3 separate regions of the Homo sapiens genome follow, and all the other regions are linked to region 2. The links are contacts of gene promoters, found by promoter capture Hi-C in blood cells and fetal thymus (Javierre and others, 2016). All regions are on one chromosome and are shown on one strand. The core of a region is centred on a gene start or on the middle of the fragment in contact, and the rest is flanking DNA. Distances in the headings are between cores, read along the strand shown. Region 1 has its middle 2.5 kb from the start of BNIP3L. Region 2 holds the start of LONRF1 (LON peptidase N-terminal domain and ring finger 1). Region 3 overlaps PTK2B (protein tyrosine kinase 2 beta).

The links. Contacts are between HindIII fragments. The CHiCAGO score rates a contact against its expected background, and 5 or more counts as called.
Region 1: a fragment that was not itself captured here is called in contact with the fragment with the promoter of LONRF1 in region 2 in 2 of 17 cell types (naive CD8 T cells and total B cells); the score reaches 9.6 in naive CD8 T cells.
Region 3: a contact is called between a fragment that was not itself captured here and the fragment with the promoter of LONRF1 in region 2, in 1 of 17 cell types (total B cells). The highest score is 10.4, in total B cells.

What each region holds. Positions count from the first base shown.
Region 1 is chr8:26,379,045-26,382,111 of GRCh38, forward strand. It overlaps the pseudogene SDAD1P1. Among named protein-coding and RNA genes, the nearest start is that of BNIP3L, 2.5 kb to the right of the region's middle. RefSeq lists an enhancer at 2,487-3,067. The HindIII fragment of the contact is 838 bases long and covers 1,167-2,004 here.
Region 2 is chr8:12,754,097-12,757,092 of GRCh38, forward strand. LONRF1 (LON peptidase N-terminal domain and ring finger 1) reads right to left here and starts at 1,430. Exons shown (of 12, transcript NM_152271.5): 1 at 604-1,430. The coding sequence starts at 1,324. RefSeq lists silencers at 1-68, 209-748, 645-835, 839-1,178, 1,259-1,928 and 1 more and an enhancer at 904-1,723. The HindIII fragment of the contact is 11,195 bases long and covers 1-2,996 here.
Region 3 is chr8:27,356,859-27,359,765 of GRCh38, forward strand. All of the region lies in intron 1 of PTK2B (protein tyrosine kinase 2 beta), which reads left to right. Among named protein-coding and RNA genes, the nearest start is that of PTK2B, 33 kb to the left of the region's middle. The HindIII fragment of the contact is 264 bases long and covers 1,519-1,782 here.

The DNA.
Region 1 (3,067 bases), core at 336-2,835, about 14 Mb after region 2:
ACACGTCTGTGTCCACCCCCACAACTAAGCTGTCAATGCCTTGAGTGAAGGGGTAGTTACAACTCAGTCATTTTGTATCTACAGTGACAATTAATAGGCACTCAATACTTTTTTTTGCATGAATGATAAATGATATTACACTACCACCACTATTTACATTAACATTTCCCATCATTAGCTGTCCCCAAAATAAAAACACCAAATTGCTGCCACATTTTCAGCAGTTTTCATAATATAGTGCTTCTGGACTTTTTAATGTAAACAAACATGCTTGATTTACCAATTTTCAGAGTAATGACACAAACTTAGCATTCTTCTTGGAATGGAAAACTTTCTGGGAAGTTACTTCATTCTTTTTCTCTTTTCAAAAGGCATCTCGCAGCGCCAACTGTTTTTCTCAGAAGGAACGCTTATTTTCTGACCAGACATTCTGGCTATACCACATCATCATAAAGTTCTTCTGTTTTTTCTTCTCTTTACTTTTTGAACTGGAAAATGGATTCACTTTGGTTTTCTTCCTCACAAATTCTTTTCGGTCTGTCTTTCCAGCCATTGCAGTTGCTAGTCTTGTCTCTTTGTCAGATTTTGGCTTTTTATGAAGGCGTTCAATGTCCGGAAGAGAAAGTAATTCACCCCTCGGCTCTTCATCACTGTCGATTTCAATATATTTCCTCTTCTGGGATTTCCCGGGGACAGCGTCAAGTTCTTTTCTCATTTGCGCCATGCGGATTTTCTGGAAGTCTTCCTAACTTAAAACTCGACTGGTGCTGACGGCTGCAGTTTTGGCTTTCTGCTCCTCCATGGGCATGGTGTTCAGCTTCTTGGAAATTTCTTGCTGTTCTTCATTGGAAGAGTGTTGCACATCAACCCATTCGCCATCGGCATCCTCCTCCTCACTGAGACTGGTACTTTCCCATCCATCTTCATCATTTTCAGCACTCTCCTCTTTCTCAACTTCCAGAACTTCTGCTCCTGGAATGTAACCTTTAGCATCTAATTCTCCATATTCTTGTACTCTTGCTTCTATGGAGGCTTCTGTAGGCTTACCCCAGAATTTCTTCTGCAGCATCTGAGGATTCAGTGTTCGGAAGAGCCGAATCAAAGTTCTAGCAGACATCATTACATTATTATCCTTGTGTGTTTTATACTGAGCCAGGTCTTGGAGAAGCTTTTCAGTCATGGCCAGAGGACACTGAGCTGTTGTCTCTTTTACAGCATTGATTCCTATTGTCATGGCTTCTCCAGAGTTCTTGTCGTTAACAAAATTGTTGGCCACAGTCATAAGCAATGATTGAATAATCGCTGGGTGTACTAGGTGATGAGATGCTTGTGCAGCAAACAGAAGGTTCTTTGTTACTTCTCTTTGGTGGGGCTGCAGAAACCTTCGCAAAAAGTGATAGAAATTGAAGAGGAAGAGCTTATGAATTCCCACCAATCTGAGATGAGGTTCATGAGCATCATCTTCACTTCCAACCTCTCCTTACAGCACTCAAGCTGCTTTAGTAGTTTTTCTGCAAAATCTTGGGGATCATGAATCAAGTGAACGGCTAAAAAGTTAAACACCTCTGGTTTTTTCTTCTTCTTTTGTTTCTTGAGCACTTTCATTGCCTTTTCCAACTTTTTCTTGTTTTGGGAACTTTGTTCCCTGTAGCATACTGTGCTAGCAGGTCTCTTGCTGTTGGTCCGTCATCCTCAGATTCGGAGTCACTGGCCTGTTTTTCATCTTCATCTTTTCCAAGAAAGAATGTCAAAGCAGCAACTAATATCTTGGTGACCTAAGAGAAACATGCAGTTGTGATAACATTGACAGTTTTGGTATCATTCCAGATGTTCCTTCTGTAGAGTTCAATCATAACATCTAAAGACATCTTGGCTGCAGTTGCATTGCTATCTCTCAACATGGTATACATGAAATTTTACAATACTACATCCACTTTATTCTTGTGTTTTGCATTTATATTCTTGATATCAGTCACGATATATGTGTATGAAGTCTTTTGCAGAAGCTTATCATGGCAACAGAGAAGTTCAAAGAAGAGTTCTAGCAGGCTTGATGGATTGATGAGATTCTTATTTCTCAGCAAGATCAAAGCTTTGCAAAATGTCATTCGAAGATCTGGATCCAATACAGTATGATTACAGGACAGAAGATCTTTCACCACTTGAGGAAAATTACTTAGATACCCTGGGTAGCAGTAACTAATCTATAACAAAGCAAAGGCTCTTCTGAAGTTTCTCTCTTTCTCTCCTATTATTCAGATGCACATATTTAGGACGTTCTGTGCCATAAACACCACCAGCTCTGCTAGTTCTTTACCGGGTTTATATGGTTGCAATTTGAAAATCTCCACATTGGATGTGTAGTGATTATACTGCTGTAGAAACTCCTAGATGGAGGGTGGTGGGTCTCGCTTCATCAGATTCTGTAACTGCAGTCAGGTTGCTGGGCAGCTTGTTGTTGTTTCTGCTGGACATTCTGGCTGAAGACTGGCTTCGCGGCGAGCAGTTTTAATAAAACTCAGATGGCCAGCAGCCGCCAATCCCTACCAGCTGCGGCTTGAACTCCTGCTTCCGGGTATGACCGGAAACAGCACTCAATCTATTAATAGAGTTCATTTCTGACCAAAATCTTAAAAGAATTTGCAAAGGGATTTGACAAATCAATCCTTAAAAAAAACCTTTTAGCATGGACTTTTTCAAATATATTAAAAAATTAGAGGAATACTTTAATGTATTACATAGCTTCAATAATTACCAACACAAGGTCAATCTTGGACAAGTCCATTTTTAAGTTCATCTGAAGAGTAACTAGCCATTAACATCTGAAAAAGACAAAGGAAGAGAAACTTTAATAGTTATCTAACAGAGGTATTGCAGATAGCCCTGAAACAGACTCACATTTTTGTGGTCATTCAGAGAGTGACAAAGGTGCAATTTCAAATCAGTGTAGAAAGGATGGCTTAAAATTAATATTATTAGGTCAATGGGCTACAAAATTGGGAAGAATTGAAGTTAAATAATTTACAGCATATGGAAAATAAATTTCAGATGGATTAGAGCTCTAAAT
Region 2 (2,996 bases), core at 180-2,679:
CTCCCGCCACGCCCACCGGACGTCACCCGTTACACAACGCCCCCCGCCCCCAGCTTATGCAATTCTGCCCTCCCGCGGTTCCCAATTGTCCCGGTGACTTTTGTGGGTGAGGAAGGGAGACGCCGCCTGCCCGGCCTAGTTGCCCTCGCGGGGGATTCTCTCCCCGCCCCGGCAGTCGTTTCCCCGCGGCGGGCCCGGCCCGAGAGCCAATTCCCGGAAAGCGCGCGGCAGGAAGCGAGCGGCCGCTCGGGATAGCCCAGCTACCACCCATCCCGCGCCGGGGCGGCCTCGGTCCAGGTCACCCACTCCGCGCCGGGAGCGCGCGCCCGACAGCCAGGCCGCGGCCGAGGGAACCCCGCGCCGAGCGCCCCTCCCCGCGCCGCGTCACAGTCGGCTCCCAGGGCGATCCCCATTATGACCGAAGCACCCCGGGGCGCCGCCCCCTCCCACACCCCCCAGCACCCCGAGACCCGACACGCCAGCGGCCCAGCGGCCCCGGGGAAGCAGAGGAGACTCTCGGGGCGCAGACAAGCTCCGGGTCCCCGGCCCTCGGGGCCAGGAGGGTGCGGTCGGCCCGGCCCCGCCGCATCCCCGCGCGGTCACCTGCTCGCAGCGCCTCGCAGGCGGCGGCCAGGGCCTCCCGGTAGCGCCCCTGGTGCAGTAGCTCCCCGAGCCTGCCGGCCGCCCGGGCCCGCTCGCGCTGGCCCGGAAACCACTTCTCGGCCAGGTGGTTGAGGACGACGCTGGTTCTGAAGTCTGAAGCGGCGATGGCGGCGGCCAGAGGCGGCGGCCGCGGGGCGGTCCCTTCAGCATCAGTGGCACTGGCGGTGGCGGGCGGCAGCCGGTCCCGGCAGAGGCGGCAGCGGGCGCGGAGTTCCCTCCGCAGGCAGCGGCGGCAGTAGCTGTGGCCACAGGGCACGGTCACCGGCTCGCTCAGGAAGCCCCGGCAGCCCAGGCATCTGAGGAGCCCGCCGGCGCCGCCGTCAGCGCCTGCAACCGGGGCCGCGCTCCAGCCCAGCCCGTGGCGGAGCCGGTAGTTGAACACCAGGCAGTCCACCAGGGCGCCCAGGCACTCGGGCCTGGCCGGGGCCCCGCGGCGCAGCGCCGCCGCGAACGCCTCCAGCGCGCCCTTCAGGTGGCCGCCCAGCGCCAGCAGCTCCCCGCGGCGGAGCAGCAGCTCCCAGCGCTCCGACTCCGCGGCCGCGCGCTCCAGCCGATGGCCGCTGCCGCCGCCCACTTCCCAGAACCGGCCTCGGCCCTGCGGCGCTGGGGCCATCTCCCGACTCCCTCCTGGGGAGGTCCTCGCCACCGCCGGAGAGGACATGGCCCGCGGAGGGCTGCGCCGCCGCCGCCCGCCGCCACGGTCCCGGAGCCTCCCGGGCGCGCGGCTCCGCACGCGGCCCGCGAGCAGGGGGGCGTGGCGCGCGGACACGGCGGGGCTGCGCGCGCCCGGGAAGCCCCGAGGGCGGGGCCTGGCGAGGGCGGGGCCGGGCTCGGCGACGGCGCCCGGGACTCCCCCACGCCGCCCGCGGCCGCGCTCCCGAGGAGCCAAGCGCTGGGCCCCGCCCCTTCCGAGCCCCCTCCGGGTGGGGGACGCAGGTCGGATGATTCCTCCGTCGGAGATCTAATTGGCTTCTCCGGAAAGGAGGGCTCGGCTCGTGACGGAACAAAGCCGGAAGGACCCCGGAGCTTCAGTCCCCGCTTGCCTGTCTGCCAACGCCGCCACCTGCGGTGGCCCTCGCCCCTGCCGGGGGTTGGGGGACGCTCCCCTGCCGCGCGGGACTCCGGGTCACCACCCCTCCCCCGACGCCCCCGCCCAGGCCGGACCTGCCCCAACTCCTGGCGGGCGGGGGTCTCCCCGCGTGGCCTCGCGCTTGTGCGGGTCTGCATTTTCATAGCTCTACGCCCATGTTCCAGGTGGGCGCGCCCAAGCAGGGGGCCTGGGAGCGCACCTTCGGCAGATGACTGGGACTCTTCGGTTCTAGAGGACTCAACTTTAAATATGAACAAAAAACCCACGTTCCTGGGGCGACTCCCTCCAGAGGGCAAGGAGTTTTTCCTGGTGCCAGGTGACTGCTTGCCCGTCTTGCTTAAAACTCATCGTGGGCCCACCTCGAGGGAGAAAGCCCACAGCTTCCTCAGGTGTCTCCACACCTCAAGCACTGCCTTACAGCTGGTTAAGGTCTATATTTGGCAGTTTTAAAAGAAAACACCAAGAAACATGTTTCACATGGCGGTCACCGTATTACTACAACCCAAGCTGGCTCTGCAGTTTTGCTGACAGAAGAAAATGATCGGGTTGATATATAATGGGTGCTATTTCCCTTAAACTTCACAGCAGCAAGTTTAAAGCTCTCAGCTGAAAATACAGATTTGATGATAGGGTATTAGATCGCTAATGTTGGAAGTCACTTAGGACTTTTAGTCCTTTTTCAAATGATTGGAAACACAGGGAAAGTTATTTGTCAAAAATCACACAGCTAATACAGATTTTAAGATCACGTCTATTCCACTACTACTACGTTAGACTAATATGTAATATTTAATAAAATATGTAATATTTCATAGAAATATATGAGATTTTCAAAGTAAAAGAAGTTGCTAATTGGAAAGTTCACCTGAGCATGCTATGTATGAAATTGGTAAACGTTTAATATTTCTCTTTATAAGGAACAGGCAATTAAGGCTAAAAAATGTTTTGAGTTCATGTGTTTTCACTACACAATCAACAAGTCGTGTAACGTCAGAAAAGACAGAGTTATATTACCCTAAAGGGAATGAATAAAAAAGAGGTGCCTGAGAAAAAGCCAAGCCTCCTGTTCCAACAGGATGCAGACAGAAACAAGTTCATTTATCACTCACATTGCACCTGAAGCAAATTGCAGCTAGATCCAAGGAGCACCTCCTAAGCATTTGGCATGGGAAGCATTGGGATTAAGTCATGAGCATAACCTTAAATCCAATCCTAACCCCTAAATTACTACCTTAACAAGCAG
Region 3 (2,907 bases), core at 401-2,900, about 15 Mb after region 2:
TGAAACTGTAGAGATGGAGAGCAAACTAGGGGTTGTGGAGATGGGTGGTGGCACGAATGTGTCTAAAAGGGGTAACCCAAAGAAGTCTTTTCACGGTGATGAAACAGTTCTGTATCTTGACTGTGGTGATGGTCTCATGAGTGTGTTCACAGGATGAAATTGCATGGAACTACATACATACCACACACACCCACACATACGAATGAATCCATGTAAAAAAAATAATGAAAATGGGATCAGGTCTGTAGTTCAGTCACAGTATTATATGAATGTCAGTTTCCTGGTTTTGATATTATTATTCTACAAGGTGTTCCCATTAGGGGAAGATGAGTCAAGGGTACTCAGGACTCTATGTGCTATTTGTACAACTTCCTGTGAGTCTATAATTCTTTCAAAATAAAAAGTACAAAAAATACTGACAAATTAAAATTCCTCTGACACTTCTTCTGTCTCCAAGAATTTTCTCACCACTTGTATGGTTCCAGAGCCACTTCAGTTGGTGTTTAAATATTAATCCCTCATGGTCCTCACATCATTTCCAGGGGTCTTCTCATGATCTTGTAGGATAGGGAGGTAACCAGCAACTGACAGCAGAAGAGAATGGGAAATTCATTTTCTTGCAAATCTCCAGTGCAGGGGGCCACCCCGTGCCTGCCATCTCCCTTAACCGCTATCAGGAGCATCATTTCCCAACCACCAGCTTTGAAGGAAATTGGGTCTCTTGTTGTGAAACTGGGCTTTCTTCTCTCTCCTTTGTCAACTCTGAATGAGAGAGGGGAAATGGGTCAGGTTAGAGAGAGGAGATGCCTTTTTTGAAGAGGAGATCTGAGTGAGATAAAGATATAGATAGCCAAGAGTAAGTGAGATAACAGAGTAGGTGCTCTGGCATAATAGAAAATGCACAGGCTTGGAATTACAGCTGCATTCATTCATTCATCTGATATTTATCAAGTGCCTAATCTGTGCCAGGCATAGTTTTACATGCTAGGGATATGGAGTGAAAATATGGTCCCTAGCCTCATGGAGATTATGTCAGATGACTGCAATTTAGACTCTATAGCTCCCCAGTCATGTGACCTCTGAAAAGTCACTTAATATCTTTGAAGCTCGGTTTCTACTCTGTAAATTGGGGTTACTAGTAGTAATTGGGGTAACCAAGCCAACCTCATTGGATTTCTATGGGGTTGCATAAGAAGGTTTACTTAGTTCTTAGCACAATGTCTTAAACATAGTAGACGTTCCCTTTTTCTCATTAGTTCTCTTCATCCTCACTCTTTGCTCCCCTCCTTGGTAGATTGGTTAGAACCATCTAAATTCCCCCAGGGCAGCACAGGGCTGTGGATATAGCTCTGCACTGTAGGTTCAGCTGAGTTAAGCCATCCTCAGTTGAGTTGACTGCTACACAGTTTTGTAGCACTCAGGCCAAATGAAACCATGAAGAAGAAAAGAAGCAATACTTTTTGCATTTCTGTCCATTTTTGCTTTATATTTTTAATTGTCTGTGTTTTGGTGCATATAAGCTTATGATTGTAACTTCTTGGCAAATTTTTCCTTTTTAACATGATTCCTCATAATCATATTTTTAATGTTTTTCTTCAAATCTTATTTGCTATTTTATATATCAATATCAACTTTCACTTAGTAACTGGTTTATATTTTTCTGTCTCTTTATTTTTAACTTTTGATGTCTTAATGTTTTTAGGTTTGCTTCTTGTAAACTACAGATAGCTGGATTTTTAAAAAATTAAGTCTAAGTGTCTTTGTCTTTTAACAGGCAATTTAAGCTTCTTTATTTATTAAGACTTCTAATATATTTAGTATATGTATACTACATTATTTTGTTTGCCATGCTTCATCTTTGCCTTTTCTCACCTCTTGCCTTTCACTGTATTGATTATGTGTTTATTATTTTCTCCTCTTGTAGCCTATTGGTTTAGAAGTTATATATTAGGTTTCTATTATTTTAATGGAAAAATAGGTTAAAAATAAAACCTAATAATAGGTTTCTATTATTTTAATTTTTTAACACATACTTGAATTTAAGGTCTAACATTAATCAATATCATTATCCTCCTTACCAAATTGGAAGGATTTTATGGCACTTTGACTCTAATCTTTCTCTTCTCATGTCCCAAACTGTTGTCCACTGGTATTATAGTATTATCTTCTTTTCAACATCTCCCCTCCCCATTTTAGCCATTAGGATTATTATCTTGGACTTTGCATACCTTCTTTTTTTTCTATTTAGATATTGCAAATATATATATTTTTGAAACATACATAGTCTTGCTCTGTCACCCAGGCTGGAGTGCAGTGGCGCGATCTCAGCTCACTGAAACCTCCACCTCCCAGGTTCAAGTAATTCTCCTGCCACAGCCTCCCGAGTAGCTGGACTACAGGCATGCACCACAATGCCTGGTTAATTTTTTGTATTTTTAGTAGAGAAGGGGTTTCACCATATTGGCCAGGCTGGTCTCAAACTCCTGACCTCAAGCGATCTGCCTGCCTCAGCCTCCCAAAGTGCTGGGATTACAGGCGTGAGCCACTGCACCTGGCCTTGCAAATATACTTTTTATTGTCTTAAGTTATTCCATTTACTTCAGTTCTTGATTTTCTAATCTATAACGTGCATCTGCTGCCCCTTTCTCAAGGTGGGTTGCTTGGTTGTATGGATCGTCACTGTGAATTGGGGCAGGAGGAGCAGGGTATTTATGTGTTTTTGCTTATGGAAATGCACTCCAGAGTTCTGCTTTTTCCTCTGCTTGAATCACTTGTCACCATCTCTGGATTTGTTTTTATTTTAATTACTTGGATTAGAATTCCCACTGCATGTAAGTAGAATGACACAGGTTTTGGGTTTTACCTTCTCTCTTTCTTTCTCTCTCCCTATCTTTCTTTCTTTCTTTC